Regions from separate parts of the Homo sapiens genome. Here region 1 is linked to region 2. Evidence: promoter capture Hi-C in human tissues and cell types (Jung and others, 2019). All regions are on one chromosome and are shown on one strand. Each heading gives the region's core, a stretch centred on a gene start or on the middle of the fragment in contact. The rest is flanking DNA. Distances are from core to core; before and after follow the strand shown.

Region 1 (2,987 bases), core at 262-2,761, 150 kb after region 2:
GGATGCCTTTTATTTCTTTCTCTTGCCTGATTTCTCTGGCTAGGACTTCCAGTACTATTTTGAATAGGCAGGGTGGGAGTGGACATCCTTGTGTTGTTCCAGTTCTTAGGGAGAATAATTTCAACTTTTTCTTATTCTTGATGTTGGCTGGGGGTTTGTCATATATGGGCTGTTACTATTTTGAGGTATGTTTCTTTGATGTCTATTTTGTTGAGGATGTTTTTTCATGAAAGGATACTAGATTTTATCAAATGCCTTTTCTGTATCTATTGAGATGATCATATGGGTTTTGTTTTTACTTCTGTTTATGTGGTGAATCACATTTATTGATTTGTGTATATTGAACCATCCTTGTATCCCTAGAATTTTCTTTTGATGTGCTATTGGATTCAGTTCACTGGTATTTTGTTGAGGAACTTTATGTCTATATTTACCAAAGATATTGGCCTGTATCTTTCTTTCTCTGTTGTGTCCTTGCCAGATTTTGGTAACAGGATGATGCTGATTTCATAGGATGAGTTAGGAAGGAATCTCCCCTCCTTGATTTTTGGGAATGGTTTCAATAATATTGGTACCAGCATTTCTTTTTACATTTGATAAAATTTGGCTGTGAATCTGTCTTGTCTTGGGCTTTTTTTTCCTGTTGAAATATTTTAAATCACAGATACAATTTTGTTACTCTTATTGGTCTGTTCAGGACTGCTGTTTTTTCCTGATTCAGTCTTGGAAGGTTGTATGTCTCTAGGAATTTATTAACTTCCTCTAGATTTTCTAGTTTGTGTGCACAGAAAAGTTCATAGTAGTCTGTGATGATCCTTTTTACTTTCTGTGCATTTGTAATGTCATCTTTATTATTTCTGGTTCTGTTTATTTACATTTTCTCTCTTTTTAATGTGGTTATTCTAGCTAGTGGTCTATCAATTTTGTTTATCTTTTCAGTGAACCAACTTCATTTCACTGATCCTTTGTATAGTTTTTTTTGGTCTCAATGTCATTGAGTTCTGTTCCAATCTTTGTTATTTCTTTTCTTCTGCTAGCTTTGGGTTTATTCTTATTTTTATAGTTTCTTGATGTGTGATGTTAGGTTGCTAATTTGAGATCTTTCTTTTTGATGAAGGCATGAAATGCTATAAACTTCCCTCTTAATACTGTTTTTTCTCTGTTCCAGAGGTTTTTGTATGTTGTGTCTCTATTTTCATTTGTTTCAAAAATATTTTTGATTTCTGTCTTAATTTCATTGTGTACTGAAAAGTCTTTCAGGAGCAAGTTGTTTAGTTCCCATGTACTTGTGTGGTTTTGAGAATTCCTTTTGGTAATGATATTTGATTTTAATCCATTGTGATATGAGAAGATACTTGATAGGATTTCATTATTTTGAATTTATTGAGACTTGCTTTACGGTTAAGGATATGGTCAATTTTACAGAATGTTTTATATGCAGATGAGAAAAATATTCTTCAGTTGCTGGGTGGTATGTTCTGTAGATGTTTATTAGGTCCATTTGGTCAAGAGTCCAGTATAATTCCAGAGTTTCTTTGTTAGTTTTCTGCCTTGATGATCTATCTAGTACTGTCAGTGGAATGTTGAAATCCTTCACTATTTTTGTATGGCTGTCTATATCTTTTCTTAGGTCTAGCAGAATTTGTTTTATAAGTCTGGGTGCTCCAGTGTTGGGTGTGTATATATTTAGGATAGTTAAGTCTTCTTTTCTAATTAAAGTATGTTTTATCTAAGAATAGCAATTCCCTACTGTTTTTTGTTTTTCATTTGAGTGATAAAACATTTTTCATCCCTTTACTTTGATATTATGGGTGTCTTTATACATTAAGTGGGTGTCTTGTAGGCAGCAGATGGTTGGGTCTAATTTTTTAAATCCAATTTGCCAATGTGTATACTTTAAGTGGAATATTTAGGCTGTTGACATCCAAGACTAATATTGACATGTGAGGTTTGTTTCTTTGTTAATATTGACACATGAGGTTTGTTTCTTAGTGTTGCTAGCTAGTTGCTTTGTAGTCTTAATTGTATAACTGCTTTATAGGATCTGTGAACTTTGCCCTTATGTGTGCTTTTATGTTAGTGAGTATTGTTTTGTCTTTTTGTTTCTGTTTAGAACTACTTTGAGCATTTATTGTAGGCTAGGTCTAGTGGTGATGAATTCCCTTTGCATCTACTTGTTTGTGAAAGACTTTATTTCTCTTTTGTTTATGAAGCTTAGTTTATTAGGATATAAAATTCTTGATTGGCATTTTTTTTTCTTTAAGAAGGCTGAAGATAAGCCCTCAATGTCTTCTGATGTGTAAAGCTTCTCCTGAGAAGTCTGCTGTTAGTCTGATGGGATTTTCTTTATAGGTGATTTGACCTTTTTATCTAGCTGACTTTAAGATTTTTTCTTTAGCATTGATCTTGATGGTCTGATGTCTGTATGCCTTGGTGATATTCATCTTATATAGTACCTTGCAGGTGTTTTCTGAAATTTTTGTAACTGAATGTCTACCTCTCTAGCAAGATCAGATAAATTTTCCTGAATTATTGCCTCAAATATCTTTTCCAAATTGCTTACTTTTTCTTCTTCTCCTGTCTCAGAAATGCCTATAAGTCATAGGTTTGGTCATTTTTACATAATTCCATATTCCTTGAAGGCTTTGTTCATTTTTTTAAAAAAATATGTTTATTTATTTTTATCTGACTGAGTTAATTCAAAGGACTGGTCTTCAACCTCTGAAATTCTTCTGCTTGATCTAGTCTATTGTTAAAGCTTTCAACTGTATTTTGAAATTGCTGTAGCAAATTTTTTATTTCCAGAAGTTTTGCTTGTTTTTAAATATAGCCACCTCAGTCGGGTGTGGTGGCTAATGCCTATAATGCCCGCACTTTGGGAGTCCAAGCAGGCAGATCACTTGAGTTTAGGAGTTTGAGATCAGACTGGCCAACATGGTAAAACTGTCTCTACTAAAAATACAAAAGCTAGCCAGGCGTGGTGGCCA
Region 2 (2,974 bases), core at 457-2,956:
GGTACCAGTTTTGCCTGAACGGGGTTTGCAGAGAATTCAGGGCTCCAGCCTGGGGTGCCTGTGACAGCCCAGTGACAAAGCACTCACCTTTCCCACAGACCACAGCGGACCTCTGTAGGTCTTGCTCTTGGACTCAGAAACCTTGATGTGATAGTGACGGATGGATGGTGAGAAAGATGCTGCTGACATAGGGCTCCCCAGAAGCCTCAAGGTGCCGTAGAGTAGCATGCAACTTAGAGATCAGCTGCTAGTGTGGGATTTTAGGACCCCAGCTGGCAGGCATAGGAATGAGCTGGGCAATTTCTATGCGTAAGTAAAGGCAACAACAATCTAACAGGACCTTATGGCACTAGATAGTAAGCCCCATGAAGGCAAGATCTCTGTCTTGTTCTCTGCCATATGGCCAGCACATAGCACAGTGATGGCACTTGGAAGGGGTTCAATATATATGTTGAATGAACAACAAATTTTAGTAACCTTATCTGGAAGCCAGAGTAGGGGTTTAAACTACTTCCTATCCAACACTGCAGCATGCAATTCATGTCTTCATTTAGCAAGTATTTCTTGAGCACCTACTACGTGTAAGGCTCCGTTGCGAGGCATCCGAAGCAATTTGTCAGCATCATTCATGTTGATACTCGGAGTGACCCGTTCAAGAGCACCTCAGCACCACCTGGCTTTTCTGAAGACTGAGGCCCCACCACAAACCCCTGTGGGGCTTCAAGCAGGGGCAGTGAGAGGGCGTTAGACGAATGCTCCAGGTTTAGCCCCTTTCCGGGAACAGGTCTGGGTCCCTTCGCATCTGCCCTGCTGGTCCCAGGATCCCGGGGCCGCCGCTTCCGGGAGCTGCCGGGTCTTGGCAACTCCGCTTTCCTCCGGGGGCCCCCGTGCCTCTCTCAAGCCTCCTTTCCAGCCAACGACCAGCGGCCCCAGTCCGGCTGCAGGTAGCTGGGGAAGGGACCAAGCTGTGCCTTGGGAGCGAGCTTCCCCGGGCGGGGAGAGCGCAGCAGATGCGGAGCGGTCCCAGAACAAAAGGCTCATGGCTGGCACGGGCCTCCTTGGAGTGCGGCGGGGACGTGGGTTCGGGACTCAGGCGAGAGAGCCAGACGCGGGAGGAAAAAAAATGAAGTGAGAAAAGAGAAGGAGGGAGAGCTCAGGGTGAGAGCGGTGAGAAGAGGTGACCCGGAGGCCGAGGTCTGCGGCGGAGCCGCAGCGGCCCTTCCTCCGCCTCCTGCAGCGCCTTCCAGGCAACCAAGCGTGTCTCCGGCTGCAACTCCAGCAAGCGCGCCGCTGCCGCCTCCACGCCCGCCCGCCGGCCGGCCGAGCCAGTAAGTAGCGGCGCGCCCACCGCTCGTTCCCCGCCCCTCCGCGGCTTCCCCGCCACCGCCCACCGCCTCCCGCCGCCCCGCGGGCAAGTCCGCGACCGCCTCCCGCTGCCCCGAGCCGGGTGCCGGGGGCTCAGCGCGCCTTCCCAGCTGGGAGCCTCGGTCCGCTGCTCGCCCTGCTCCCTCTTGCCGGGGCGCGGCGTCTGGGGCGCGCCGCGGGGAGGGTCGCCCTCGCCGCGCGCTGCCCGGGCGCCGCGCCACCCCTACATCCAATGGCTTTCGGGGAGCGGGAAGTGGGGGGCGTCGCCGGGGGCGAGGAGCCGCGGCCGGGGTGGGGCGTGTGCGCTCAGCGCGGCCGAGCGAGGCTGACGTGCCCGCCCAAGCGCGCGCCCGGGAGTGTGTGTGCGGGTGTGTGTGTGCGGGAGTGTGTGCGCACACGCCTTCGGGGGCTGGAGTGACACTGCAGTGGGCTTCTCCGTAGCCCCAGCCTTCAGGCTGCGCAGCCCCTAACCTGCCGGCACCGCTTTTGGGAAGCAGCTTGGCTCTTCCATCTCCCCAAGCCTTCCTCTCCATCCTTTCATCCACCCCTCGCCGATCTTACTTTTTCTTTTACCCACGGGGCCGCGGCCGGCCACCCCCTGGCCGGTGCAAACACCCAAGCCCTCTCCAGTTCTCCCCCAAGCTAATATTTTCCCACCTGTCTTTTTCTGGGGTTCCTCCACGAGCCAGTCCAAGGCTCCCCCATCCTCGGAAATTGTTTTGTTGGACTGCTAAACCGAGGCGTGTAAAGCTTGAGGACTTTATTATTATTTGGGTTCTTTTCATTTCTTCCCCTTCTGGGCAACGAAGCAATGAAATTTCCAATCGAGACGCCAAGAAAACAGGTGAACTGGGATCCTAAAGGTGGGTGTTTCCTACTTTTGGCTGCCCTCGCCCTGCCTCTGTCTCCGGCGTGTGCGCGCTTCCTTGAGTGGAAGCACTCTTGCTTCTGGCAGCGTGTGTCCTGAGGCTGGGAAATGCGCCTGGGAACTGCAGCGCGGGTGGGAGGAGGGCGGAGGCAGCGTGGGTTCCGAACCCAGATAGTGCCTGTCATTACCACATAATCATTGTCCCTCCTAGATTGTCTCCAGATCTATTTAGATAGACCAAGCCGACTGTTTGGTTTGAAATTGCAAGTGTCGGTATTTGCTTTTGACTTTGAGTGTGCGAGTGTGTGTGTGTGTGTGTGTGTGTGTGTGTGTCCTTTGTTTCTGGTGATCTTTGTCTCTCTGGCAGATGGGTGGGGTGCTTCCCCCTGGACCTGGAGCTGCGCCGCATGCCCGGGTGTCCTCAGTGGGAAAGGTTTCCTGGCAGCAAGTGGGGCTCGAGTTGCAGCAGCCGTCCCTAGGGGTGGGCCGTTCTCGCAGGGCATGCAGAATAATGGAGCCCACAGGGCCTCCTGAGTCTTCGTTCAATCTTATTACCAAACCTAGCAGCTAGTTAGGCTCAGGTCAGAGTAGAAGCAGGAGGAGGGGTGGTTTGTGAGAAGGGTGGGGCTGGCAAGGCATAGGGGAGGGGCACGAAGTGTGCCCGCCCAAGCAATGGTGTGGTTTGCATGCTTTTACGAATGTTGGACCAGGTTTCATCCACGCAAAAGGGAGGGATTAAGA

The links. The method cuts DNA at HindIII sites, captures the fragments that hold promoters and counts their contacts. A contact is called where the count stands out against the background at its distance.
Region 1: a fragment that was not itself captured here is called in contact with the fragment with the promoter of KCNK10 in region 2 in 1 of the 25 tissues and cell types used here (dorsolateral prefrontal cortex).

What each region holds. Positions count from the first base shown.
Region 1 is chr14:88,169,523-88,172,509 of GRCh38, reverse strand. The region is part of intron 1 of KCNK10-AS1 (KCNK10 antisense RNA 1); the gene reads right to left. Among named protein-coding and RNA genes, the nearest start is that of KCNK10-AS1, 10 kb to the right of the region's middle. The HindIII fragment of the contact is 4,258 bases long and covers 1-2,987 here.
Region 2 is chr14:88,322,001-88,324,974 of GRCh38, reverse strand. KCNK10 (potassium two pore domain channel subfamily K member 10) reads left to right here and starts at 1,706. Exons shown (of 7, transcript NM_138317.3): 1 at 1,706-2,228. The coding sequence starts at 2,177. RefSeq lists enhancers at 1,069-1,128, 1,701-2,360 and a silencer at 1,179-1,418. The HindIII fragment of the contact is 9,751 bases long and covers 1-2,974 here.